7 separate regions of the Homo sapiens genome follow, and all the other regions are linked to region 3. Evidence: promoter capture Hi-C in 16 types of primary human blood cells and fetal thymus (Javierre and others, 2016). All regions are on one chromosome and are shown on one strand. Each heading gives the region's core, a stretch centred on a gene start or on the middle of the fragment in contact. The rest is flanking DNA. Distances are from core to core; before and after follow the strand shown. Region 1 has its middle 3.2 kb from the start of OR1J2. Region 2 has its middle 52 kb from the start of OR1J1. Region 3 holds the start of OR5C1 (olfactory receptor family 5 subfamily C member 1). Region 4 has its middle 32 kb from the start of OR1J1. Region 5 holds the start of PTGS1 (prostaglandin-endoperoxide synthase 1). Region 6 has its middle 17 kb from the start of PTGS1. Region 7 has its middle 9.9 kb from the start of OR1J1.

Evidence for each region. The method cuts DNA at HindIII sites, captures the fragments that hold promoters and counts their contacts. A CHiCAGO score of 5 or more calls a contact.
Region 1: a fragment that was not itself captured here is called in contact with the fragment with the promoter of OR5C1 in region 3 in 6 of 17 cell types (endothelial precursors, M2 macrophages, M1 macrophages and 3 more); the score reaches 12.6 in endothelial precursors.
Region 2: a fragment that was not itself captured here is called in contact with the fragment with the promoter of OR5C1 in region 3 in 7 of 17 cell types (total CD8 T cells, activated CD4 T cells, naive CD8 T cells and 4 more); the score reaches 7.8 in total CD8 T cells.
Region 4: a fragment that was not itself captured here is called in contact with the fragment with the promoter of OR5C1 in region 3 in 1 of 17 cell types (endothelial precursors); the score reaches 5.2 in endothelial precursors.
Region 5: a contact is called between the fragment with the promoter of PTGS1 here and the fragment with the promoter of OR5C1 in region 3, in 10 of 17 cell types (naive CD4 T cells, total CD8 T cells, endothelial precursors and 7 more). The highest score is 8.6, in naive CD4 T cells.
Region 6: a contact is called between a fragment that was not itself captured here and the fragment with the promoter of OR5C1 in region 3, in 1 of 17 cell types (naive CD4 T cells). The highest score is 6.5, in naive CD4 T cells.
Region 7: a contact is called between a fragment that was not itself captured here and the fragment with the promoter of OR5C1 in region 3, in 8 of 17 cell types (endothelial precursors, megakaryocytes, M0 macrophages and 5 more). The highest score is 12.1, in endothelial precursors.

Annotation. Positions count from the first base shown.
Region 1 is chr9:122,505,509-122,509,683 of GRCh38, forward strand. It overlaps a transcript of OR1J2 not described here. Among named protein-coding and RNA genes, the nearest start is that of OR1J2, 3.2 kb to the right of the region's middle. The HindIII fragment of the contact is 3,029 bases long and covers 252-3,280 here.
Region 2 is chr9:122,424,273-122,427,967 of GRCh38, forward strand. No RefSeq gene overlaps it. Among named protein-coding and RNA genes, the nearest start is that of OR1J1, 52 kb to the right of the region's middle. The HindIII fragment of the contact is 849 bases long and covers 1,648-2,496 here.
Region 3 is chr9:122,786,650-122,790,915 of GRCh38, forward strand. OR5C1 (olfactory receptor family 5 subfamily C member 1) reads left to right here and starts at 2,284. Exons shown (of 1, transcript NM_001001923.1): 1 at 2,284-3,246. The coding sequence starts at 2,284. The coding sequence ends at 3,246. The HindIII fragment of the contact is 2,532 bases long and covers 866-3,397 here.
Region 4 is chr9:122,443,394-122,447,535 of GRCh38, forward strand. It overlaps a transcript of OR1J2 not described here. Among named protein-coding and RNA genes, the nearest start is that of OR1J1, 32 kb to the right of the region's middle. The HindIII fragment of the contact is 2,196 bases long and covers 754-2,949 here.
Region 5 is chr9:122,369,119-122,373,288 of GRCh38, forward strand. It overlaps PTGS1 (prostaglandin-endoperoxide synthase 1), which reads left to right and starts at 1,906. Exons shown (of 11, transcript NM_000962.4): 1 at 1,906-1,973; 2 at 2,068-2,154. The coding sequence starts at 1,967. The HindIII fragment of the contact is 9,806 bases long and covers 1-4,170 here.
Region 6 is chr9:122,351,710-122,355,408 of GRCh38, forward strand. No RefSeq gene overlaps it. Among named protein-coding and RNA genes, the nearest start is that of PTGS1, 17 kb to the right of the region's middle. The HindIII fragment of the contact is 920 bases long and covers 1,328-2,247 here.
Region 7 is chr9:122,466,024-122,469,981 of GRCh38, forward strand. It overlaps a transcript of OR1J2 not described here. Among named protein-coding and RNA genes, the nearest start is that of OR1J1, 9.9 kb to the right of the region's middle. The HindIII fragment of the contact is 4,683 bases long and covers 1-3,958 here.

The DNA of each region.
Region 1 (4,175 bases), core at 516-3,015, 280 kb before region 3:
CACATTGGGGATTAAGTTTTAACATGAGTTTTGAAGGGGACAGACATTCAAACCATAGCATAAACTTTGCTTTATCTATGATGTCTTAGACCTAGATATGAAAAAGGCCAAAATAAATCCTCAAACATTATTATCTCAAGCTATAAATACTTCTTTATTTGTCCTATATCCCTATATATTTCACCCCTAAGAATCACGATTGGCATGATAAATGACCATTTTCCTCAAAAGATCAATTTCAGAGAACCTGAAGCTTTTCAATTTTGAGTCATTTTTTCTAGATTTTGCGTGTCAACTTGTTTTTTTTTTCTATTTGCAAGTTTGTTTTCTTTTGTTTTTGTTCATTTAGTTTTCTTTCCCTTCTCTTCCTTCTCTCCTTTTTTCATTTCTTCCTTGAAAACTATTTTTATTTGATATAACCATACCTAAGTTTGTCAATGAAACAATAAAACCTCGAAAAAGATGATGATCTCTGCCTCTTTCTCCTTCTGTATTTCCTCATGTTCACCGGAGAGAAGAAACACAAGTCACTTCCTTTGGGCTACCTGATGAGTAGGACTCAGTAAGATCCCTTGGAGTGGGATATGGTTCTACCTAAATTCTCAGAGCCCAGCAGTCATATGGATTTCTTCTATTTAAACATGATTGGAGTCAGTATTTTTTTTAACCTCCCTAGGATTTATCCAAAGTGTGATTAAGACTAGAAAAACAGAGGGTAGAACAGAAGAGAGACTGAGGGTACTTTGAGATATTTTCTTTGTGTACTCACCCTCTAACGTTCCCAGGACAAATATCCTCCCACAGAATACCTTTCCCAGTGGAATCAAGGGGAAAATTGGACAATTAATCCATGTTTTATGGATATCTTTAACTGGAGATTACCAGTTCAATCTCCTACTCCCTAGAGTTTTCTCCTTAGTTAAGCTCTTCGATTCACAGCTCTGGGGCTGTAAACAGGAATGAGTTTGTACTTGTAGCTTTTATTCTTGGTGTCTGAGAAATGTCTAGAATCTTGGAAGCTGGTTTTTAGATCCCATAATGAGAACCTTAGGAACACTTATCCACCAAACATTGGATCATAAATGCAGGGAAGGTAAGCACTGGAGATGGAATGGGTATTTTTTCCCTCTCAGCAATAGATGAGTTTATAAGTGCATATAGACGAGGAAGAAACAGAAGGCAGCAGTTGGCATGGGGAGAAGAGATAGAATGTAAAAAGACACACACAGAGAGACAGAGGAAGAGAGAGAAGGAAGGAACAGAGAGATATTGAGTGGCAGACATAGACAGGATGAGAGAAAGGGGCAAAAGGAGAAAAAGATGAACGAAGAGAGAGACTGACATACTGGAGGAATATTTTTCTGCCTTGGATCCTGACATAGAAAACCAGATCTGAACAGCAAAGAATCCAAGCATTCCAAAGTTGTTTTGGTGTTTAAATCAGGAATTTTGGGAAGGCCTCCTACACTTCCAAAATGTGTCCTTCATTGGCTATAAAAATTATTCAACTGCCAACATTTGGGATAATTTTTCTTTGATGACAAGCATATTCCTCTCTGTTTACTCAGGACAACACAAATATGGTGCCTTATCTGTGGTAGGTTTCAAGGGTCTGTTTGTTGAATGAATGCATGTGCCTTATAAGGACAAACGTCTCTCCAAAGGAGTCACTTGTTTAGTTCCTGATGTTTGCTTGTGTCAGAACTGTCAGATAAGTCGTGACCTTTGAAGCAATCAGAGGGCACCTGAAGATGAAAAGAAGAATGGAGTTAAAAAGGGTCATTAAAGGGGAAAATACTTAGGAGGCTGGGATTAGGGTAAACAAAGTCATCTCTTTATATCTTGCTGAACACTCAGTTATCCTCTTGCCATTGGCTTTGAGTCTTGGTAGGCTGCTGAAGGACTGGCACTTGGCTGCCTTATAAATTATCCAGCTTATCCCCAAATACAGTCTACACCAAGGCATTGCATTCAGCTGCTAGGCATCAGAATATAAGCTACTTATGTGAGAACGAGCCTCTCTCCTGAATTTCCCTTTTGTTTTCCCTCCCTGGTAAGTAGTGCCTGTTTCTCACTTGTCTGAATGAGAACTCCAGCAGTAGAATGATCATTTTCCCCCTGTGCTCATATGTGTTCTATGTTTGTGCTCTTGGTTTGCCAGCAGTTTGTATACTCAATTCCACAACTTTGTCTAAGGAATCCACACCCAGAGTCCAGCAAAGGAATTAATATGAATAATTTTCTCCTGCGTGTAAAAGGACGTAAATTCCTCTGGCTCCTCTCTGGGTAGATTTGCATTTTGTCTTTAATTGTGGCAGGAGGGAAACCAATATTTGCTGAGCACTATGCAAGCAAATGTACTAGGGGTTTCAAATATGTCATCTCACTTCATCTTACAAAAACCTTATGGGGTATAATTGCATCCTGTTTAAAGATCTTCATCTTTCTGAGATTCGCAAGAGTTAAGAGACCTGCTATGGACAAAAATGCCACAACCAAAGTTTTATGATGACCAAGCCTATCTTATTCCAAAATCTGTGGCTTTTTCTCTAGTCTCACATTGCCTTCAAAGTGGGAGTAGAGGACAGAGAGGGAGGGAAGGAGGGAGAGTGAGGGGGGGAGAGAGAGAGAGGGAGAGAGAGAGAGAGAAAGGAGAAGGAGAAGAAGGAGAAGGGGAAGAAGAAGAAGAAGGAGGAGAAGGAGGAGGAGGAGGAAAAGGAGAAGATTAGGAAAAGGAAGATGCTTGAGCCTAGCACACTTGGAACACTGTGTTTACTGACCTCAATATGTATGTTAGGGTGGGGATGTCTTTAAGGAGTTAGGTTGAGGTCTATATATAGCTAGATTTAAAAACTGAAAGATTTGAAACCTGCCACCGACTTGTCTTCTGCTGAATTTTTGCTCTAGGCCAGAAGCTCATTGGATGGATAAGAGCCCTCTCTAACTCTCTGCCTTTTCTTATTAAAGGAAATTTTATTAAAGGAATATTCCTTATTAAAGGAATATTGAAATTTGTAGGAGAGGGATGGCATAGAGTCTCATTTATGATTAGTGACAAATGCTTCCAATGAGATAGCAGCCTTATTTCCCTGCTGGTTAGGTAAGGATTAGCTCTGCTGAGTGATTGCTTTGTTTTGTTGGATGCAAGATGGAAGCTGGGGAAGGACACATGGATTTTGTTGCATTCTGGTCCCTAGATAACCAGAATATTTGGATATACCTGAAGTCTTTCCAGTGCTGATGTATCAGTTTTCTATTACTGCTTTAACAAATTACCACAAGCTTAGTGCTTTAGAAAAACCTCACAAATGTTATTATATCACAGTTCTGGAGGTCAGAAGTCTAAAATGGGTATCAGTGGGTTAAAACTGAAGAGGTTGGCATTTCTTCGAGAGGTTCTAGAGCATAATCTTGTTTTCTTGCTTTTTTCTAGCTTGTAGAGCCCACTTGCATTCCTTATCTCATGGCCCCTTCCTTCGTCCTCTGAGCCAACAACATAACATCTTCGAATACGTCTCTGATTCAGACTCTTCTATGTCTTCTTCCACATTTAAGGCACTCATTATCACACTGGGCCAACCCAGATAATCCAGGATAAGCTCCCCATTTTAAAGTCAGCTGATTAGCAACCTTAATTCCATCTACAACCTTAATCCCACCTTGGAATGCACCACAGCAGATTTACAGGTTCTGGAGATTAGGATGTGGACATCTTTGGGGGTTCTTATTCTGCTTACCACAGCTGACTAGGAGGTGTTGTGTTTTAAGATGACAGGAGTACCCAAGAGGGAGCTGAAAACTTGGAGTACACTTAAAATCTCACTTCTTTTGCCATCTTTTGATAATAGCCTTCACAGTTTGTTATGGGATGAGTGTTATTGCCTAGGGAGGAAAGGGAGACTGGATTGCAAAAGAACTAGAAAATGCACACTTTGAATATAATTTAAGATAATGTCACTTAAACTGCTTTGTGTTGACAGTAAACAATAAAGCGTAAATAAATTTCCCTAAAGTATTTTCTCATAGCCAGTCTGATCTTTACTTTCTCAACATGCCAGGGAATCACAAGAAATCCACAACCACCAAGGGGAAGAAGTCTAAATGACGTTAAATGGAAATGTGCCTTCCCACAAGGTTGGAACAGAGAGGTTGGCAAGGGTGAGGGGAAAGGGAGG
Region 2 (3,695 bases), core at 822-3,321, 360 kb before region 3:
CTGTGGTTTAATTAAGTGGCATATGTGGTTAAAAGTTTGTCTTCTTCTAAGGGAGCAGTAATTAAAAATTAAGCGTAGTCTCTCCATGGATCAGTATCTTCATTGGAAACACGGCCTTTGGCTGTCACCAATTCAGAATACTGGAGAAACAGGCACTTCTCTCTCAGGCTCGTCTGCCCCCCTTCCAAGTCCAAAAAGTAGGACCTACCTGGGTCTGATTGGGAATGACACCTAGAATTGAGGGACCAAGTTGGGGGAGATGGGTCTTGCATGGCCATAGTCAACCTCAGTGATATCCTCTGTGTTGAAGGAGGCATAACATTATAGAATGAGATTGGTGAGAGCACTGAGGTAGTAGTGCACCTGATGTATTTAAGGAATAACAGACCAGTATGGCTGGACTGGGCTGAATGAATAAAGAGGGGCAGGAGCTGAGGTCAGAATGGCCACAGGACCAGTTCACATAGTCTTGTAGTCAGATTATTGCAAAGATTTTGGCTTTAATGTGAGCCAACTTTATCAATATTTTGTTTTTGCTACATTTTGATCTTATTTAGAAAATCTTTCCATAGCCTAAGTTCTAAAATATAACTTTTATTTTCTACAAAGTGTTTTTTCTAAAATTAAGTTTTCTAAAGCATAATTTATGAACAATAGCATTTATTCATAGGAAGTATTCCATTTGATGAGTTTTGACAACAGTATGCCGTTATGTAACAACTACAATGAAGATACACAATATTCTTATTGCCACAAAAGTTCTCTCCTACCCATTGGTAGTCACTATCCTTCTGCCACTCCTAGCCCCAGGCAAACGGTGATCTGATTTCCTGCTTCCTTTTCCTGAATGTCATACAATTAGAATGATATAAGATGTAGCCTTTTTTTGGTCCAGCTTCTTTGATTTTGCATACTTTTTTTGAGATTCTTCCAAGTTGTTGCACATATAAGTAATTCGTTCATTTTTATTGCTGCATATGGATGTACCACAATTTGGTTATCCATTCATCATTGGTGGACTGTCTCCACTGTTTGGCTACTGTGAATAAAGCTGCTCTAAACATTGGCATACAGTTCTTTGTGTGAACATATGGTTCCTTGTCTTTTGGGTAAATACCTAGGGATAGGATTGCTGGGTTGTATGGTAGGTATGTGTTAAACTTTTAAAGAAACTGCTAAACTGTTTTCAAAAAGGGCTGCTCCATTTTGCAATGGATACAATTTCCAGGTGCTTCTCTCACCAGAGCTTGGTATTAGCCATTTTAGTGATGTGTAGTGGTATTTCATTGTGGTTTTGATTTGCATTTCCCTAATGACCAGTGGTGTCAAGCATCTTTTCATGTGCTTATTTGCCATCTGTATATCTTCTTTGATTAAGTGTCTGTTCAGATCCTTTGCCCACTATTTGAGCTATTTGTCTTATAATTGATTGTGAGAGTTCTTTTTTCTAGATAAAGTCTTTATTAGGTATGTGTTTTGCAAACATTTTCTCCCAGCCTGTGGCTTGTCTTTACATTCTCTTAACAGTATCTTTCAAACAGCAGAAGTTTAAAATTTTGATGATGCTGAATTTAGCAGTTTTTTTCTATTATGGTTTTTGCTTTTTGTTTCTTATGTGAAAATTATTTGCCTAATCCAAGGTTACAAAGCTTTTCTTTTGTTTTCTTCTATAAGTTTTACAGTTTTAGCTCTTACATTTAAGTCCATGATCCATTTTGAATTAATTTATATATATGGTGTGAGTTAAGGATTGATTTTTTTATATGGATATCCAATTGTTCCAGCATCAGTTGTTGAAAAACTGTCCTTTCTCTATTGCATTGGAATTTTTGTCAAAAATCAATTGACCATATAACTGTAGATCTATTTCTGAACTCTTGTTTGATTGAGCTTTAAAACCAAAAGTACACTGTCTTGATTATTATAGCTTAGTAAGTCTTGAATTGCATGGTGTGGGTCTTCTTTCCTCCCCCAAAGTTATTTAGGTTCTTCTAGGTTTTTTGCCATTTCCATATAAATTTTATTTTAAAATTTTCAACTTACAAAAGAGCCCAATAGAATTTTGATTGAGATTTCATTGAACCAGTAGGTCAGGAATTGCCAAAAAAACACTTTCACAGAAACACATAGAATAATGTTTGACCAAACACCTTGTTACCATGGCTCAGCCAATTTGATACATCAAATCAACTATATAGTCTCTCTCCTGATGAATATCACCGTCTTTACCTTCAGTCTCTATTAATGGACTACATTTTTACCAATATTCATAACAAAAAATTAGAATTTTACAGTTTATCTGTAATTAGAAATATGTCTTCATACTTATAAAAGAAAGAATGTTTATGGTCAGGGCATGAGATCCTTTATGAAGATGCAGATTTAAAAAAATCTATACTTTTGCTATCCAGAGGTAACCACTGTTTCTACATTTTGGTAGATTTCCTCAAATTTATTTATATTTATGCCAAGTCTTATTCCTGAAGAATTTAAGGAAGCTTGGAAATACGTATAAAATACAAGATAAGATAAATGGAAAATGAGGTTAGAAAAAGAACAAAAGGGGGGATAAACAAGGGTGGAGACATAAAATTGAGCCAGGAATGACTCTGAAAATGCAGATTATGATGACTGTTGTTATGGGTGGGCCTCAGATTTGGCTCAGGCTTTCTGGTCAGTCACACAGTTCACTGGGACCAAAAGTAAAAATAAACCACTTGATTAGGTGAAATTATATCATCTGCGGTTCTAAGAACAGACACATTGCATGGGGTTTCTTTTAATCCGTCTTAATGTAGGCTTTGGCAATCAAATTGGGGTGTAAAAATTCACAGTAAACAATAGCTCAGAGGCAAAAAGAATGCTGTCTAGGTGCTCAGATTTCCAGTGGTTTGGGTGGACAACATATTGGATTTTAGTCTTGCAGGTAGGTATGGATGACCTGCATGTCCTTTGAGCAAGCTTCCCTAAATATATTTTCTTTTAGTTAAACTTTTGGTAAACACTGAGTATCAGTGACCACCAACTAATAGTCCCTCGTTGATACCTAAGCTGCGGCTGGTGTCTATTATCAATCAAGTAGAGGTGAATCCTATTTAGAGTTGGCAATCAAACAACACACTAGTATTTAGTGCAGGGCTTTCAGTCAGACAGATGTTTCAGATTCTAACTCCATAACTCAACTAACTGTGCAGTAATAAACAAGTTAAAAATTTCACCAAGTCTCCAGGTTCTCATCTATAAAATGTGAATAACATCAGTATCTGTCTTGTAGGGTTGTCGTTGGGATTAAATATGTTTACACAAGTAAAGTATGTAACACAATAACAAGAGTATAGTAAGTGTTCAATAAATGATATTATTATTATCTTTATAAAGCTGAGGAGACTAATGAGGACTTGTGCCTAGAAATAAGGCCATCAGACATCTGCTTCCAGGTGAGCTGAGACAGCACCCACCGAACGTGTTCCAGGACCCAAATAAAATCTTAACCTTAAACTACGTAACTTTTGAATGAACTCCCAGATTCCAGTGTATTCTACACCAAGGCATCTCAAGTGTTAGTCTGTGGATCAGTGTTTGTCCATAATGAAGTTTTCATGCATGAACTGAAAAAAAAAAAAAAAAACAACCCTGCAGAATTGGCTCTGTTCCCAGTACTCTTCTCTATCTTTAGGTTAATTTATATTTCTTGT
Region 3 (4,266 bases), core at 1,034-3,533:
GAATCACCTGAGGTCAGGAGTTCGAGACCAACCTGGCCAATGTGGTGAAACCCCATCTCTACTAAAAATACAAAAAAATTAGCTGGGCATGGTAGCACACACCTGTAGTCCCAGCCACTCAGGAGGCTGAGGCAGGAGAATCACTTGGACCTAGGAGGTGGAGGTTGCAGTGAGCCGAGATCACACCACTGCACTCCAGCCTGGGTGACAGAGTGAGACTCCATCTCAAAAAAAAAAAAAACAAAAACAAAACAAAACAAAACAAAACAAAACAAAAAAAAAAAAAATATATATATATATATATATATATAAAAGTAAGATATTTTGAGGGACAGAGAGAGAGACCATATTCACCTAACTTGTATTATAGTACATTGTTATAATTGTTCTATGTTATTATTGTTGTTGTTATCCCTTACTATGCCTAATTTATAAATTAAGCTTTATCATGGATATGAATGTATAGGGAAAAAAATCACATATATAGGGTTCAGTACGATCTGTGATTTCACACATCCACAGGGGGTCTTGGAACGTATTCCCCATAGATAAGGGGGAACTACTGTATGCTCCAGTGCAGCAGGCCACAGACAAGAAAAATGTTTAGTTTTAAGGGACAGATCAGGGAAGGCTTCACACTGGAGAAACTTTTTACCAAACACAAAAGGAGGAAATGGGTTCCAGGCAAAGAGGACAAATGCAAGGCACAGGAGTGTGAAGCAACATTGCATTTTCTGGGAATTATACTACTTTTGATTGCCATAAAGTTGCTTCCTTCCAGTTTGGAGCCAGAGCATCCAGTTCAATTTATTTCCATTCGCAGGGCCTTTGTTAAATGCCTGCGTGTGCTAGGCCCTGTGTGAGAAGCTTTACATGCATTATCTCATCGAATCCTTGCAGCTTTCCCCCATTATCCAGATGAGAACATTGAGGCTCAGAGAGGCCAAGAATTCAGCTCAGGAATATATTCACATTTTCTGTTCTTTCTACTCCCCACTGTTTTCGCAAGATACCAGGCTACTCCTTTCTCCGATCTTACTCCAAAGGAAAGATGTCCCTACTAGCAAACCTCAAAAGCCATGGCCAGGTGCCCGTTGGATCTGAAGATTATTTCTGCTCATTCCACTGTCTCTTTTCTTACCTGGAAAACTGGAGAGGAGAATGCATATAGAGTCACAAAGTTTTCAATCATTGGCTGGACACTAAATATCATCCCATTCATTCATTTAACAAATCTTTTTTGAGCACCAGCTATGTGCTAGGCAATGCTCTCAGTGCTGTAGACACAAAAGTGAATAAGAGGGACAAGACCCCTGTGGGTGTGGTGGAGCATGCCTATAATCCCAGCTGCTTGGGAGGCTGAGGTGGGAGGAGGATCACTTAAGCCCAAGAATTTTAGTTCAGCCTGGGCAACATAGTGAGACCTTGTGTCTCTTTAAAAAAAAAAAAAAAAAGGCTGGGCGTGGTGGCTCACACCTGTAATCCCAACACTTTGGGAAGCTGGGGCAGGCAGACTTGAGATCAGGAGTTGAAGACCAGCCTGACCACCAACATGGTGAAACCCTACCTCTACTTAAAAAATACAAAAATTAGCCGGGCATGGTGGCGGGCACCTGTAGTCCCAGCTACTCGGGAGGCTGAGGTAGGAGAGTCACTTGAACCCAGGAGGCGGAGGTTGCAGTGACCCAAGATTGCACCACTGCACGCCAGCCTGGGCAACAAAACAAGACTCCATCTCAAAAAAAAGAAAAGAAAAGAAAAGAAAAAAGAAAAAAAGACGGGCCGGGTACAGTGGCTCATGCCTGTAATCCCAGCACTTCAGGAGGCTGAGGTGGGCGGATCACCTGAAGTTGGGAGTTCGAGACCAGCCTGACCAACATGGAGAAACTCCATCTCTACTAAAAATATAAAATTAGCCAGGCACGGTGGCACATGCCTATAATCCCAGCTACTTGGGAGGCTGAGGCAGGAGAATCGCTTGAACCCAGAAGGCGGAGGTTGTGGTGAGCTGAGATCACACCTTTGCACGCCAGCCTGGGTAACAAGAGCAAAACTCCATCTCAAAAACAAAAAAAGGCTTCTGCAATGACTTCTAAGAGTTAGAAACAGGTTTTGAGAGGTTACGTGGCTTGCTCAAGGTCACAGCAATTTTGTTGCACAGGTGAGCTGAAACCCAAGCCTACCTAACTCCCAGTACAGGATGCTTTCTTCTCCCTGGCCATGGCCTTGCCATTGCTCTTATCTCCCTCCTGCTTTGCCTCTTCTCAGTCTCTGTCCAGTAGGATGAACTCAGAGAACCTCACCCGGGCCGCGGTTGCCCCTGCTGAATTCGTCCTCCTGGGCATCACAAATCGCTGGGACCTGCGTGTGGCCCTCTTCCTGACCTGCCTGCCTGTCTACCTGGTGAGCCTGCTGGGAAACATGGGCATGGCGCTGCTGATCCGCATGGATGCCCGGCTCCACACACCTATGTACTTCTTCCTGGCCAACCTCTCCCTGCTGGATGCCTGCTATTCCTCCGCCATCGGCCCCAAGATGCTAGTGGACCTGCTGCTGCCCCGAGCCACCATCCCTTACACAGCCTGTGCCCTCCAGATGTTTGTCTTTGCAGGTCTGGCTGATACTGAGTGTTGCTTGCTGGCAGCCATGGCCTATGACCGCTACGTGGCCATCAGAAACCCACTTCTCTATACAACAGCTATGTCGCAGCGTCTATGCCTGGCCTTGCTGGGAGCATCAGGCCTGGGTGGGGCAGTGAGTGCCTTTGTTCACACAACCCTCACCTTCCGCCTGAGCTTCTGCCGCTCCCGGAAGATCAATAGCTTCTTCTGCGATATCCCTCCACTGCTGGCCATCTCGTGCAGTGACACCAGTCTCAATGAACTCCTTCTCTTCGCCATCTGTGGCTTCATCCAGACAGCCACGGTGTTAGCTATCACGGTGTCTTATGGCTTCATCGCTGGGGCTGTGATCCACATGCGCTCGGTCGAGGGCAGTCGGCGAGCAGCCTCCACCGGTGGTTCCCACCTCACAGCCGTGGCCATGATGTACGGGACACTCATTTTCATGTACCTGCGCCCCAGCTCCAGCTATGCCCTGGACACTGACAAGATGGCCTCTGTGTTCTATACCCTGGTCATCCCGTCTCTCAACCCACTCATCTACAGCCTCCGCAATAAGGAGGTCAAGGAGGCCCTCAGGCAGACCTGGAGCCGATTCCACTGTCCAGGGCAGGGGTCCCAGTGATTGGTCCAGGGAGGCTGGGTAGGTCTGACTATGAGGGGATGAGGAAGGTCGGGGCCTCTTTCTGGCCCCGTCACTGTCGGTAAAGATGGGATGTTCCTCTGGCTTGGATGTCTCATGTCATTGTTTAAGGGACAGTAAAGAGGGAAATGAAAGCTTATAGCAGGGAGAAAAAGATTTGGGGTTCATCTAGGGCTAGACCTAGAGCCAGACGCTAGACCAGGCTAATGTTTCTGTTGCACTGCCTCAGGTTCTTCAACATTCAAAACATTCTTCAATATTCAGCTGGGTGCAGTGGCTCATGCCTGTAACCCCAGCACTTTGGGAGGCCAAGGCAGGAGTTCAAGACCAGCCTGGGCAACACAGGGAGACCCCCCCACCATCTCTACAAAAAAAAAAAATTGTTAAAAATAAGCTGGGCATGATGGCATACTATGCAGTCACAAAAAAGAAAGAGATGATATCCTTTTCAGGGACGTGGATGGCTCTGGAGACCATTTTCCTCAGCAAACTAACACAGGATCAGAAAACCAAACACCACAAGTTCTCACTTATAAGTGGGAGCTAAACAACGAGAACATGCGGACATATAGAGGGGAACAACACACACTGGGGCTTATCGGAGGGTGGAGGGTAGGACGAGAGAGAGAAGCAAAAAAAAAAAAAACTAATGGATATTAGGCTTAATATCTGGGTAATAAAATAATCTGTGCAACCAACCTCCACGACACACATTTACCTGTGTAACAAACCTGCACATCCTGCACATGTACTACCTCTGAACTTAAAAGTTAAAAATAATAATAATACCTGTAATCTCAGCACTTTGGGAGGCCAAGGCAGGCAGATCACGAGGTCAGGAGATCGAGACCATCCTGGCTAACAAGGTGAAACCCCGTCTCTACTAAAAATACAAAAAAAAAAAAAAAAGAATTAGCTGGGCGCAGTGGCAGACACCTGTAGTCCCAGCTACTCAGGAGGCTGAGGCAGGAGAATGGTGTGAACCCAGGAGGCAGAGCTTGC
Region 4 (4,142 bases), core at 602-3,101, 340 kb before region 3:
TGGTTGACTAGTCTGTGTTCTGGTCACAGGTTTATCTGAGCTACAAACATGGACTGGACATGGCCCTTGAGTCCTGATTTTCCACACCCAACCTATGGTCACATCCTGGAGATTCTGCCTCTCCCACGTCTCTCAGTCTGTTCACCTCTCTCCATGTCAGCTCTTCCTGCCCTTATGGAGACCTTTATCATGTCTTGTCTCCAAACCAGGCTCCTTGCAGAGATGACGGCCCCCTTTCAATCCATTCTCTACATTGTAGGCAAATCAGTTTTTATAAAATGCAAGTTTGAATACATCATTGTATTATCTTGATAGGGCTGCAGTAACAAAGTACCACAAACAGAATGGCTTAAACAACAGAAGTGTATTTGTATTGTCTCACAGTTCTGGAGGCTGGAAGTCCGAAATTGAGGTGTTGTCAGGATTGGTTCCTTCTGAGGGCTGTGATGGAAGGATCTGTTCTGAACCTTTCTCTCTGGCTTGTAGATAGCTGTCTTCTCTCTGTGTCTCTTCATATTGCCTTCCTTTATGCACATGTGTTTCTGTTTCTGTATTCAAACTTCTCCTCTTTATAAGGACACCAGTCGTGTTGGATTATGACCCACCCTCATGACCTTATCTTAACTTGATTATCTCTCTAAAGGGCCCATCTCCAAATAATGCCACATTCTGAGGTACTAGGGGTTAGGACTCCAACATATTTTTTTTGGAAGGGGCACAATTCAGCCATAACAGTGATGTTTGTGCTGCACAAGCTTCTCCATGGCCTGCAGACTTAAAGCTAATCTCCTTCCCATGATGGGCTCCTGCTGGGCTCTGCTCCATCTTTTGCCTTTCTCCCTGACTTCTTGCATTCCATGTGCCCATTGTAAAATATTTCTTGCTGCTTCTTGCCTTAGGGACTTACTATTCCATCTGCCTGAAAATGCCCGTTCCCTCTCTCTGTTAGCCCTGGTGATTAGTCCTCACCCTTTGCCTCAGATTAGATATTGCATCCTTTTGGAAGCCTTCCTGATGTTCCTCCACGATAGGCAACCCTCTCACACACACGACCTGGAACTAAATCAGTACTTACAACACTGTCTTCCCCACTAGACTGTGAGCTGCCTGAATACAAGAACTGTGTCTGGTTCCTTGTTACCCCATCCCACCTGGCATGGTGCCTGGGACACAATGGTCCCTTGATAAATATTTTCGAGATGAAATAATGCTTAGATGGACATTTATAATTATGAACAGATGTAAAGAAGAAATGCAACAGACCTCAAGCCACTATCTAAAGAGCAGCATTCCATTTAAGTCACTACAGATGGGACAGAGACCAACCAGAATGGCGGGAACCCCTCTCCTTGAAGGTGCCTCTTGGTCTCTTACAGCTTCAACTTTAAAACAGACTCCTAGGGACTCTGAGTTGGAGAAATTCCTAGAGATCCATTAGGATCATTTTAAAGAAGGGAGAAATTGGAGCATGATGGGAGGAAGAACCTTAATTATCCTGACATTTTTATTGTTAGTCAAGACTGGTACCTGGACTTCTTGGCTTCTCCATGAAAAGAGTAAATGGTTTGCCTGTAATAGAGGTCATGTGCATGGAGGTTAAGAGAATGGGTGCTGGTCCACTTTTTAGGTATATGGTCCTGCCTCTTATCAGGCAAGTGATCTAGGGCAAGTCACCTAACCTCTCTGTGACACGGTTTCTCCATCTGTGAAGTGGGGACAATGGGAGTACCTATCTCAAAGTTGAGAAGATTTGCTGAACAAAAGCATGTTAAAGCACAATGCCCAGCAGGTGGTCAACATCCCCATCCCCAAATGTTAGTATTTATACTATGAGGAAGAGAAAATATTTTAGTAAAGTAACCAGTCATAGCTAAATCTTGGAAGCCTGCCTGGTCTGCACTTAGATTAACCAAACATGTAAAAATCAGAGGTTTAGTCATAGTGACCCCTCATTCCTTTCTGTACACATGGATAGTGCTTGATTTCATTGGGTTCATTTGGACAATAACACATGAATAAGCCTTTCCTGATTCACTGGGGTCTTATCAAAACACTCAGAGTGATTTTTTGCCCATGTTTGACTCATGGACATTTTGGAACCCACCATTCTCCCATGGAGGGCAGTGAGGAAGGCATACATGATAGACGGGGCTATTTAGTCATGGCGCCTCCTGTGTCCAGATGTTTTATTTCCACTGTCCAGAAGCAGAAGCCTTTTCCACACTGTGTCTGCAAATTTATTCAGAAACCACACTTCAGCTGAAGGCTCCAGCCACCTGACATTTCCCACTCATTAACTCCCTAGGGGAGAACAAGGATACAAGAAGAGGGAAGCAGAGTGACAGTGGTCATAGGTTTTCCTGATACTGCTTCAGATCCCTGACTCATTCCCCACCTCTGGTCCCCAGCACCATCCTAACTTCCCATCCTAGCAGACAGAGTGACCCAGAACCACTGAGTGAGGACCTGTGTGGTCTGGAGACCCTGTCCCAACTGTAATGCTTTAACCTTCCTTTGCCAGGCCTCCTTAGGGCCCTTTGTGCTCCAAGGGAACAGGGTAGTCTCTCTCCCAGCTCTTCCCTCAGGGAACTCTGCTCTATGACTTCTCCAATTTGTTTTGTTTTGTTTTGTTTGTTTCTTTTTTTTTTCTCTGAGATAGAGTCTGGCTCTGTCACCCAGGCTGGAGTGCAGTGAAGTGATCTCCGCTCACTGCAACCTCTGCCTCCTGGACTCAAGTGAGCCTCTCACCTCAGCCTCCTGAGTAGCTGTAACTACAGACATGTGCCACCACACTTGGCTAATTTTTGCATTTTTTTTTGGTACAGACAGGGTTTTGCCATGTTGCCTAGGCTGGTCTCAAACTTTTGGGCTCAAATGATCCACCCGCCTTGGTCTCCCAAATTGCTGGGATTACAGGCGTGAGCCATCATGCCTGGTCAACCTTTTCCAAGCTTAGCAAGCAAAGGACAGCCCAAGGAGATGGAGCATGTCATTGCCTCTTCCCTAGTACTGAGAATATTCCCAGAGCTTTCATGGTCATATCTCAGAGGTGTGACTCAGCTTCCCCATTTGTAGGTAACTCAGGTTGAGGAACAGGAGTGAGTATTTTGGAATATGAGGGATGTCTATAAAAGTGAAATGCTATTTTGTCTTTTGGTATGGGATAGCTTAATATTGGGGGACAATAGTTTTCAGGTAATGGAATAGTGTGGCTTGGTTGTGTGTGTGTGCGTGTGTGTGTGTGTGTATTTATGCTAGTCCAGGGACAAGTGATGAAGGTAGATTAGAGTTATGTTGGTTTACAAATTCTATCAGGTTCTTTGGATTCTCGGGATATTGACAATGTCGGGGGCTCTTTAAGTGCTGAATTTTCAGCATGTAGTAAGAATAGTTTTACATGATTTATCTATTGGGGAAACTCTAAGAATTGTTCCAGTTTTAGTTGCAATAGTGGCCCTCCAGCTCCTTCCAGTTACTGGCCTCTGACAGAGCAGGAGTACTGTTATCTTGGACAAACAGCTCCACTTTAAGTTCCAGCTCCCTTTCTAACCTCATGCATTTCAAGGAAATCACTTATCTTCTAACAATAAGCAGCCAGAAAGAGCAGACGGTAAAACACAGATAAGACAGCTTGGGCACAGAGAGAGGGGGAAAGTCTCTTGGGTAACCACCAAACTTCACACTCACAATGGGCCCCAGTAAAACAGTGGGTCCTAATAAGTACATTCCTTTCCCTTTAGGTGCACGAAGATAGGGAAGCTAAAAGCAGACTCAGGGGGTATGCCTGCAGCTGCAGGAAGATGTGTGGGAACAGACACAAAAACCCTCCCTCCCAGATAAGCAAGACAGACAAACATTCCAAGCCCGTGATAAGCTCTTCTGCCTTGAACCCTTAAAACCTCTCAGTCTGTAAGAGAGAATGCCTCTGACCTAACTTGGCCAGAAGCCCCTCTCAGGTTTATTCTCCAAAATAAACCTCTCTTTGACTGTTGAGCCACTTTTTGTGTTTCTTTCTTCTTTCTTTAATTCTTGTAGCCTCTGTTACTGGGCATGGAGTCATCTGTCTTCTATGGAGCACCTCTGTCTTTTGGTCAAAGAGGGAAAATGAAATCCTGGCCCTATGGATACTGGGAAGCATACTC
Region 5 (4,170 bases), core at 656-3,155, 420 kb before region 3:
TCATCCCTGGAGGGCTGCCTCGGCACCCTGCCTGCTCTCTCAGACTCCATCCTCTCCTGTATTGCAGCTGTGTTGAGATCTGTGGTGCTGGTCACAGAGCCTGGCTGCAGTGAGGGCTCAATTGCTCCATGCTGGAACTGGACCAGTCCTCAGAGACCATCTGATCTGCTCATTCTGTTGTTCAAATGGGGAAACAGAGGCCCAGTGAGGCCTAGCGGCTTGTTTAAGGTCACGCTATGGAAGAAGTGACTTGAACTCACTTCTGATTCTGAGGTGAAGGCTCTTCCCATCAGTGCCAGGGCCACACAAGTGTTTCTTGTTTTGAGTGCAGATGGGTGGCTTGGAAGTCAGCAGGAGGCACAGGTGTGGTGACTTGATGGGCTCAGGGCCCAAAGGGAGGGAGGGCCTGGGAGTGGAAGATGGAACCTCATTCAAGCCCGTCTCTCCTTTCTTCTCACCAGAAACTCCCCCTTTCTTTGGACAACTGGACCCCCACACCTCCACCCTGTCCCCATCCCTTTTGCTGATAATCCCATCTCCTTGCCCTGTAAATGCTAGGGGGCCCTTGATTTGGGGAGGAAGGGAAGGCTGAAGCCGGTCCCGGCACCCTGAGAGCCCCAGGGCCCTCCAATGCCCCACTCCTTCTCCAGGTCTGCCCTGGCTTGCTCTGTCTCCCTAGGGCAGCTGGCTTTTGTCCCAGGGGAGCATGGGAACAGCTTGGGTGAGAATGGGGGAGGGGCTTCCCAGCAGGTTTCACCTCTCCCACCTGGCATAATTTCTACCCTGCACCCAGTGATGCCCAGGAGCCAGCACAAGAACCTCTGAGCTCTCCTGCCGGCTTTCCCCACTGTGGGGCCCACAGGATGGCTGGGTGTGCTGGGGAAACTGAGGGAGATGACTTGTGGGTGCCAGCACCATGGGACTTTGGGTGATCTTGGACCTATTCCTTCCTCCTTCTAGGTGCTTCCTGAGCTGGCGAAAAGGAGAGCTGGATGCTGGGATTCTATAAATTCGGCGGTGGATGTGAGTCTAGCTACAGCATGGACCCTGGCCAGCCCTGGAATCTGAGTTCAGAGATCTTTGAAAAAATGCCTTCCGATAACTGAGCACCTACTACATGCTGGACACTGCACCAGGAGATTTGTGTGCATTCCCTCATTGAATCTTACAACCACCCTCTGGGATGGTTTTTGCTATTAAGCCGATTTTATAGATGAGAATACTGAGGGCTAGAAAAGATAAGTACCTTGTCCAAGGTGACACGGCCAGTAAGCTGTGGAGTCTGGATTTGAACTAGGCTCTCTTGGAGTTTGGAGCCCGGTCTTTTCATTTCTGGCAGAGACCTGTGGCTTCAGGGGGCGGAGCCCAGCCCATGGGGGAAGTAAGTCCTTCCTGTTAGATCTGTCTGAGGAGTAGTGAGTTTCTCATCTAGGAAACCATCAGCAGGCCAGGCTGGACTGCCCCATTTCTAGCCCCCTTTCTTCTCTGCAGACTGCCCTGTTTCTAGCCCCTTTTCTTCTCTACCCTTTTCTGTAGAGTGCGTTAGACCCATTTTACAGAAGGGGACTCTGAGACCCTTTCTTCTCTGCGGGGCAGGGTATGTGGTTCAGACGAGCCGCTTCCATCCCCAGTTCTGTCCCTAAGCCCTGGGTGACCTCAGCATTGAGCATCGTCTCTGAGCCTCAGTTTCCTGTCTATATCTAGTGCCACCAGGCATCAGAAACGTAAGTGCTTCAAGGATCTTGGGTGAAAAGCCGCTTTAGCGGCGAGCATACACTAATTAATAAAATGCCTTGGCCGGGGCTGGGCAGAGGAAGTAAGCGGGCAGCCGAGGTGACAGCTGGAGGGAGGAGCGGGGGTGGAGCCGGGGGAAGGGTGGGGAGGGGATGGGCTGGAGCTCCGGGCAGTGTGCGAGGCGCACGCACAGGAGCCTGCACTCTGCGTCCCGCACCCCAGCAGCCGCGCCATGAGCCGTGAGTGCGACCCCGGTGCCCGGTGGGGAATTTTCTTGGCCTCCTGGTGGAGCCTTGAATGCCAGGCTCAGCCCCTCATCTCTCTCCTCTGCAGGGAGTCTCTTGCTCTGGTTCTTGCTGTTCCTGCTCCTGCTCCCGCCGCTCCCCGTCCTGCTCGCGGACCCAGGGGCGCCCACGCCAGGTAGGCGGCCCCATCCCTCCCCAAGGGAATCCCCGGTCTTGCGCCCCTGGCCTGGTTTCAACCCCCTCCTTTCCCCTCCAGCGGGCCCAGCTTCCCCTTTCTGCTCGCGGTGCTGAGAAAGACTGAGGCTGAGTCTTTTGGTGGGATGGGGGCTCCCTGAAGCCCCCCCGGCGGTGTGGCCTTGGCTAATGGGCTATCTAGTTCTTTCAGGGGAAACAGCAGACTGGGATCTGGTGCCAACTTGGGGAGAAGGGACAGTCCCTATCCATCCCCCTCACCTGTTCTGGGCCCCAGATGTCTAAGCAGCCTCTGCACCCAACAACCCCGCTGTTTCCTATAGGGGCCTCTTTGGGAGGAAGCCGCAGGCACCAAGGGAAATGAGTTCCCTTTCTCCAGCCTCTAACCGTCTGGGAACCCATCCTGATTCCCATTGCCAGTGGAGAAGGTCTCCCCTGGTGAAGACTTCGGGAGAACATGGGAGATGGAAATACATTTAGGAGCCGGGATGCTTCATCTGGGGTTTAAGAGATCCCCATTGAGCAAATGAGGAAACCGAGGCTCAGTAGGTGCCATGATTCCCCAAGCTCACAAAATACATGGTGGGCCCAGGATCTGAACTCAGGTCTGTCTGCGTCCACACACTTCGCAAGGTCTTTCCACAGAAAGCTGCTTCTACCCACAATGGACCCGGAGCCACTCTGGGTTTCATGGGGGAGGTTGATGGGGAAATTCCGCCCTTCCCTCCCCCATGCATGTGCCAGGTTCCAGGTGAAGGAATTCAGCTCCTCGCTCAGCCAACCTTCCTCCCCCAGCTCGCTGCTTGTGTGTGTGCGTGTGTGTGAGCATGTGTCCCAGTTGGATATAGTTTCCTCCACCACCTAGCTGTGTAAAATCTCTAAAATGAGGCCCAGAGAGGGCAGGAGGGAGCAGAGGGAGTCCGCACTTTCTGCTGTGATGCTCTAAGGATCTGGTGCGTGGGGGAAAGAGGAAAGATATGTACATGGATTTTGGATCAGACCAAGTTTCCTGAAACGGGCTTTGGGTGGGTGGCATTTAGGGGACCCAAAGAGAGGACGGAGGGTGCTCTAGGAAAGGGATTGCGTTGAATAAAAGTCTGGTTTATGGGAAGAGGAGGAGGAAGACTCATGTGGCCAGCACTTTAAAGTTTACAAAGGTTGGTTGTGGACATCCACCTCTTTGGTGCTCTCAACAGCCCTGCCAGAGAGATGCGTTAGACCCAGTCTACAGAAGGGGACTCTGAGGCCCAGAGGGAGTGAAGCCACTTGTCTGAATCCTCACAGTGAGCTGGTGGTGGGGAGTAGAAGGGGCTCTTCAGGTTGCCTCGCTGACCCATCTTGTCAGTCCCTGGATCAGCCCAGCACTTCCTCTGAGGCCCCATCTGGCCTCATCCAGGCACTCTTGGTATACAGGTCCCACCCGTCTGTATTCTTTTTTAGTCCATTCACTAATGCACAATGAGCCATGGTCTGTGCTATTTTGTTTTTTGCCTTTTCTGTTTCCTTTTGTATAATAAATGTTTACACGGAATTGTTTTTTTTTATCCCCAAGGGTTATTTATGCCAGTCTTTGGCTGGGGCCTGGAGACACGGAGCTGGGAGGAGCTGACAGGCTGATGGTGGAGCCAGAAATGCCAACAGACTGTCATCCAAGGGGACCAGGGCTGTGCGGAGCTCATGGGAGGAAGCAGGGGTATAGGGAGCCCAGGGAAGGGAGCAGGGGTGTGCGGAGCTCAGGGGAGGGAGCAGCTGCCTCTCAGTGCGAAGAATTGAGGGAGGCTTCTTGGATCTGATGACTTTTGGACTGGACCTCGAAGGAGGTGGCGGGTGGGGGAAACACTAAGAGACTCGACCAGGAAACACCGTAAGGGTAATGTGGAGCAGGAGGCTGAGGTTGGATGCGTAATGTGGGGATGAGACTGGAGGCCAGAAAACTGGTACCGAGGCTCCTGCAAGGATCTAGGAAAGAACGAATGACTGGTGGAGTGCAGGGGCAGAA
Region 6 (3,699 bases), core at 538-3,037, 440 kb before region 3:
TGATCCTCCCGCCTTGGCCTCCCAAAGTGCTGGGATTACAGGCGTGAGCCATCAAGCCCTGCTGGTATCTGCTTTTAAATTTCGCTTTTGTCATTTGATAACTGTGTGACCTCAGTCAGGTTCCTTATCTCATTTTCCCAATCTCCAAAATGGGATTGATGATAATAGTGCCTAAGAGGCACTATTAACTGAAATATCACATAAGAAATTGTGCTAAGTTGGGCCAACTACAAGGTTAGAGGGCAGAGACTCCACACAAGACCACTTTCATTTCTTTCTTTCTTTCTTTTTTTTTTTTTTGAGATGGAGTCTGGCTCTGTTGCCCAGGCTGGAGTGCAGTGGTGTGATCTCGGCTCACTGCAACCACCACCTCCAAGGTGTGAGTGATTCTTCTGCCTCAGCCTCCCAAGTAGCTGGGACTACAGGTGCGTGCCACCAAGCCTGGCTTTTTTTTTTTTTTTTTTTTTGTATTTTTAGTAGAGACAGGGTTTCACCGTGTTAGCCAGGATGGTCTCGATCTCCTGACCTTGTGATCCGCCCGCCTCGGCCTCCCAAAGTGCTTGGATTACAGGCGTGAGCCACTGTGCCCGGCCCACCTTCATTTCTTAAAAATTTTTTTTAATTAAAAAATTAAAAAATAATTTTTTGTGTTAATTTTTTTCCCCCAGAGATGAAGTCTCACTATGTTGCCCAAGCTGGTCTCGAGCTCCTGAGCTCAAGTGATCTGCCCACCTTGGACTCCCAAAATGCTGGGATTACAGGTGTGCGCTACTGTGCCTGGACAAAAAATTTTAAAGTTTTAAAATTTATTCATTTATTTGTTTATTATTATTTTTGAAACAGAGTCTCAGTCTATCACCCAGGCTCGAGTGCAATGGTATGATTATGGCTCACTGCAGTCTTGACCTCCTGGACTCACGTGATCCTCCCACCTCAGCCTCCTGAATAGCTGGGACTACAGGCATGCACTACCATGCCAGGCTGATTTTTTATTTTTTGTAGAGACACAGTACCATTATGTTGCTCAGGCTGGTCTCGAACTCCTGGCCTCAAGTGATCCACCCATCTCAGCCTCCCAAAGTGCTGGGATTACAGGCATGAGCCACGATGCCTGTCCACCATCACTTCTGATACCAGCTACAAGTTCAAGAGGTTCCCCAAACCACCCTCAGATTCCGTAATTTGCTAGAAAGACTCACAAGACTCACTGAAAGCCGTTATACTCATGGTTATAGTTTATTACAGGGAAAGAATACAGATTAAGATCAGCCAAAGGGAGAGATGTATAGGGCAGAGCCCAGGGGGGTTTCTTTCAAACATGAAGTAAAGCTTCCATTGTCCTTCCCATGGAATCAGAATGTGTCACTCTCCTAGAATCAATGTGACAATATCTGTGGAGTATTGCCAACTGAGGAAGTGCATCTGAGCTCAGTGTTCAGAGTTTTTATTGGGGCTCTATTTTCTTTTCTCTAATTTACTTTATTGTAAGAATATAGCATATAATATATATAACATATAAAATATGTGTTAATCATCTGTTATGTTATTGGTAAGGCTTCTGGACAACGGTAGGCTATCAATGGTTAGGTTTTTGGGGAGTCAAAAGTTATATGTGAATTTTTGACTGCATGGGGGTCAGTTTCCCTAATCCCTGCATTATTTTTATTTTTTTGAGACAGAGTCTAGTTCTGTTGCCAGGCTGGGGTGCAGTGGCATGATCTAGGCTCCTTGCAACCTCTGCCTCCTGGGTTCAAGTGATTCTCCTGCCTCAGCCTCCTGAGTAGCTGGAATTACAGGTGCCTGCCACGATGCCCAGATAATTTTTGTATTTTTAGTAGAGACAGGGTTTCACCATGTTGGCCAGGCTGGTCTCGAACTCCTGACCTCAAGTGATCCACCTGTCTTAGCCTCCCAAAGTGCTGGGATTACAGGCATGAGCCACCGTGCCTCGCCACCCCTGCATTGTTTAAGGGTCAACTGTACTAGCTGTTATCCACTTGAGATGCAATCTACTTCTCACAGTTCCTCTAAAGGGGAACTCTCTGTCTCTGGGCCTTTGCACCTACTGTCTTCTCTGCTACGAACACCTTTTCTCTGGGAAGACCCTGGGGACTGAGTTAGGTGCCCTGCATGTACCTCACCTGCCTCCTCTTCTCCTCTTTCCCAGGACTTATCCCATGGTCATTGCCTGGTCAGTGGTCAATGTCTGTGTCCCCCATCACAGTGTGGGTACCTTGTGGGCACAGAAGCTTCTGTCTTATTCTTCCCTGTTCCAGGTGCTCGGCACAAAGTAAGCACTAAGGAACTGGTTATTTTATTATTTTTATTTTTGAGACAGAGTCTCCCTCTGTTGCCCAGGCTGGAGTGCAGTGGCGCAATCTCAGCTCACTGCAACATCTGCCTCTCGGGTTCAAGTGATTCTCCTGCCTCAGCCTCCTGAGTAGCTGGGATTACAGGTGCATGACACAATGCACAGTTAATTTTTGTATTTTTGGTAGAGACGGGGTTTCACCATGTTGGCCAGGCTGGTTTCGAACTCCTGACCTCAGGTGATCCACTCACCTCAGCATCCCAAAATGTTGGGATTACAGGCGTGAGCCACTGCGCTCAGCCAGGAACTGGTTATTAAGTTAAACTTTGAACTCTGTGCTATAGGACAGAACTTAAAAACTAGATTAGACTCAGAAAGGATTTGAAAATAAATGATACAAATCTGGTGAAAAGCCATGGTCAGAAGAGGGACATTTCCTCTACTTCATAATGACATTAACCATTTAAATGCCAGGTTCTGTGCCAGGTGCTTATCCATGCTATCTCTTTTCTCCTTTAAAGCCCATGCATACAATTATCTCCATGTTAGTGATGAGGGCTTGGCCATTTAGGGAGGCAAGGTGATTTGCTCAAAGTCACACAGCTAGTAAGGGCCGAGGCGGAACTCATGCCTCTTGGAGGAGCTTGCCTCCGAGAGCTTGTAGCCTCTGGAAACAGTGATGTTGGCAGGGAGGGTGATTGCTGCTTGCCTGACTCTGAGGGCCCACTGGGCAGAGAAAATGACCTGTGTTGTGGGCCCTGAGCAGCAGCAGGGCCAGCAGGAGGCTGGGGAGGTGGATTTCAGTTTCTTGTGTCCAAGAACGCAGGCTGCCTGACGGGGTGGCAGCAAATGAACTCTTGCCTTGCACATTTGCTGCCCATGTGCCTCAAGGTCCAGGCCTGGGCTGAGATCCCTCCTCTCTGTCTATCCCCAGTGCTGCTGGGGGTGGGGAGAGGGTTCTGGGGAAAGAGGAAGGAAGAGCCAGTCCAGCCAGAGGTCTGCAGAGGAGCCAAAGGAAGAGGGAAGGAAGAGGAAGGAGGGAGGGCTCGGAGTGAGGGCTCAGAGTGAGGGTTCTGAGATTCCCAGCTCCCTCCAGTGCCTGAGTTCGTGGGTTCTGAGAAACAAGACGCTCTCTGGGTTGGGGGTGGGCTGCCTGAATTTGACCTTTTGGGCAGATGGGGCAGAAATCAGGGCCTCAAACAAACTCCATCTTGAGAGCCAACTGGGGAAGGACCTTGGCCTGGGGGCCAGGAGCCCTGGATTCCAGCTCCTTCTCTGTTTCGTGTTCTTGGGCAAACTCTTTCAGCTGTAGGCCTCAGTCTCCAGATCAGTTGAATGGAGGTTTGGGCTCAATGACTTGAGGCACCCCCTACAGAAAGGCAGGAAGC
Region 7 (3,958 bases), core at 719-3,218, 320 kb before region 3:
ATAAAATTAACACAGTATTATAATTTCGACTTATCATCCAGGTTTTTCTTACCTGTGCCAGTTGGTTCATATACTTTTTGTGAAGGCCAGGCCCAATATTGAATGGCCCAGGCTCCTTGATGTGACCCTGAGAGGGCTTTAGGCAAGAATACCCCAAAAGACTATGACAGAGCCTGAAGCACAGTGAGCAAGCAAGCAGACAAACAAACAAAAACAACAAAACTTCATGAGGCTATTCTTGAGGCTTTTCCTGAAACCTGAGATGAATAAAATCCAAGACTGTACCCAAAACCTAATGAACCAGATTACGACTATTACAGTTGGCTCCGGGTTGTATTTGTAGAAAATTCTGGATTACCTATGGATGCCGAATCTACTCAAGTAGGCTGTAATTCTAAGTTTGCAAATGGCCTTTCTCAAGAACTTTCTCAGCTTGTCAAAAGAGTACACATGGAATGGAAAACTATGTCCACTTCTGATTTGGTTAATCTGGCAAATCACCTTGCCTGCACCCCTGAGGACAGTACTAAAAACCACTAACATTCGTAATGTTACAATTACAGCAAACTGAGGCTCCCAGACATAACACTAGGCAGAGACTCCCTGGGCTGTGCCAACGTTCCAGATGGCTGGAAGAGAGATTGCTGCAAGAGAAAGGGGGAATTTCATTCCCAACTCCCCCATCTCTTCTCCCATCTGAGACCACTTTCAGTGAAGGGGCTCCAAGGACTTATGGGGGATTTTCCCACTTCTCCCACTTAATTTTCTGAGTGAAATGATCCTTCAAATTAGGAGTGTTTTTTTTTTGGCGGGGGACAGAGTTTCTCTCTTATCTCCCAGGCTGGAGTGCAGTGGTGCGATCTCGGCACACAGCAACCTCTGCCTCCTGGGTTCAAGCGATTCTCCTGGCTCAGCCTCCTGAGTAGCTGGGATTACAGGTGCCCACGACCATGCCCAGCTAATTTTTTTGTATTTTTAGTAGAGACGGGGTTTCACCTTGTTGGGCTTCAAACAACTGGTCTCGAACTCCAGACCTCATAAGCCACCTGCCTTGGCCTCCCAAAGTGCTGGGATTACAGGCATGAGCCACCACATCCGGCTGGGAGTGTGGTCTTAACTGTGCTCATTGATGCCACAGCAATATTTTTCATCCTTAATCCCCCTAGCCTCAGTCAGCCCCTGCCTCAGAGTAATAAAAAGATTACAAATGGTGAGTTTCCAAAAAGCCACTGACTACTTTTGTTTCACAGCCCATTTCTTTCCATCTTGGTCTTCTCTCCAAGACACCCACACCTTTTGCTTGTTAATTCTGCCCCGCTCCACCACCTTGGATGTGATTTTTTTGAAAAATACCATGCTAAAATTTCTTTTTCCCAAGAGGGGGAAATAATTTTAGAATTTGATAAACTAAACTGTCCTCACTCAACAGACTCCCCCAATTCTGTCATTTGTTATGTCATTCCCTGTTCAGAAAACAAAAATAATGTCACTCATTTAGTGCTGAATCAAATACCTGTCTCTTTAAAGGCAAAATCATTCACTGATATTTTCAAAATTCATAGTGTACCTCTTATTAAAATCCAGATTAACCTATTAAAACCCTTGCTTAATATTAAACAGCCACTAAACCAGATGGCACTGCAAGGTATTAAACTTATTATAAAAGAATATAAAAAACAGTCTCATTATTCTCTGTACCAGTCTTTGGAGTACCCTGATCCTACCTACTAAAAGACCAAACAACCATGGGAGGAGGTTTGTTCAGGAACTCTCTCTGAGTTATAAACCATAGTATTATTACAAAGCACCCAGTGGTTCCAAATCCCCATACTGTATTAAATCCAATACCCATTGATAGCAGATTCTTCACCATCACTGATCTGTGTATTACATTATTCATTATTCCAGGGGATCAAGCCAACCAATATCTTCTTGCCTTCACCTGGGAAGGCCAACAGTTCACCTGGACATTAATGCCTCAGGGGTTTACTGAAAGTTTTTCCTATTTTCTCAAATGTTAAAGGCAGACTTAGAGGATGTAATTTTTCTCCAAGGCTCTTGTTTACTACAATATGTAGATGACTTCCTTCTTTGCTGTCCTTCACAGGCAGCCTGTGAAAAAGACAGTGTATACCTATTAAAGCAAGTGGCTGCTTAAGGTCATAATGCCTGTAAAGAAAAACTGCAGTGAGTAAAAACTCAGGTGAAATAATAAAGCCATTTAATTTCAGAGAATGAATTACATTTAGAACCAGAACAGATTCAAGGCATTTTACAATTTCCTCAGCCCAAAAGAAATGCCAACTTTGTGAGTGGGTTTCTTGGACTCACTGGCTACTTTTGAAACTGAATTCCCAACTTTTCTTTTCTGGCCCAACTCCTATGTGCTTTACATAAATTTACCAAACCTGACCCCATTACTTGGACAAAATCATAAGGGTAAGTTTTTAAAAAGCTAAAGGAGAAATTGATAAATTCTCCAGTTCTAGGTAATTCTAATCATAAACTCTTTTTTTTTTCTCTTTGTCTGTGAAAAGGAAGAAAATACTTCAGGGATCTTAACCCAAAAGCATGGAGGTCCACACCATCCTCCAGGATACTACAGTTGACAACTGGATCCCATCTCCTGTGGATTCCCTCTCTGCCTAAGAGCAGTCCCCGCTGCATCCTTGTTAGTCAAGGCGACTGAGGAGATAGTCATGGGATTCCTCCCTGACTGTGTTTTTTCCTCATGCCATGGAAGCCGTTTTACACACTCATCACACTTGGCATTTTTCTGCTAGCGGACTAACCTCCTATGAACCTCTTCTACTTACTATTCATCATATTATTCAATCATGCTGCAATAACCTTAACCCTGTGGCTCTCTGGACCTCTCCATCAGATGAAACACCACATGGCTGCTTAACTCTGACAGACCAGCTTTTAATTCCTTGGGAGCAATTCCTGTGGACAATGCTGAGTTGTCCTGGTTTACAGATGGCTCACATTTAAAGAATGAGTCTGGCAAGTATTGTGCAGGCTGTGCAGTCGTGACTTCCTTTGAGATTGTGAAAGCAGCTCATTTACTATTAACTACTTCAGCCCAGCAGGCAGATCTGTTTGCCCTCGCTTGAGCCTGACTCCTTGCTACAGGAAAGACAATGTTTATGTAAGCAGCAGGTAAGTGATATGGCTTGGCTCTGTGTCCCCACCCAAATCTCATCTTGAATTGTAGTTCCATAATTCCCATGTGTTGTGGGAGGGACCCAGTGGTAGATAATTTGAATCATGGGGAGCAGTTTCCCCCATACCGTTCTCATGGTAGTGAGTAAGTCTCATGAGATCTGTCGTTTTATCAGGGGTTTCTACTTTTGCGTCTTCCTCATTTTCTCTTGCCACCACCATGTAAGAAGTGCCTTTCACCTCCCACTATGATTCTGAGGCCTCCCCAGTCATGGGGAACTGTAAGTGTAATTAAACTTCTTTTTCTTCCGAGTCTTGGGTATATGTTTATCAGCTGCATGAAAATGGACTAATACAGTACATTGGTACTGGAAGTGGGGCACTGCTGAAAAGATACCCGAAAATGTGGAAGCGACTTTAGAACTGGGTAACAGGCAGAAGTTAGAACAGTTTGGAGGGCTCAGAAGAAGACAGGAAAATGTGGGAAAGTTTGGAACTCCCTAGAGACTTGTTGAATGGCTTTGACAAATGTATTGTTAATGATATGGACAATGAAATCCAGGCTGAGGTGGTCTCAGATGGAGATGAGTAACTTTTTGGGAACTGGAGCAAAGTTGACTCTTGTTATGTTTTAGCAAAGAGACTGGCAGCATTTTGCCTCTGCCCTAGAGATCCGTGGAGCTTTGAATTTGAGAGAGATGATTTAGGGTACCTGGCAGAAGAAATTTGTAAGCAGCAAAGCACTCAAGAGGTGACTGGGGTGCTTCTAAAGGCATTCAGTTTTAAAAAGGAA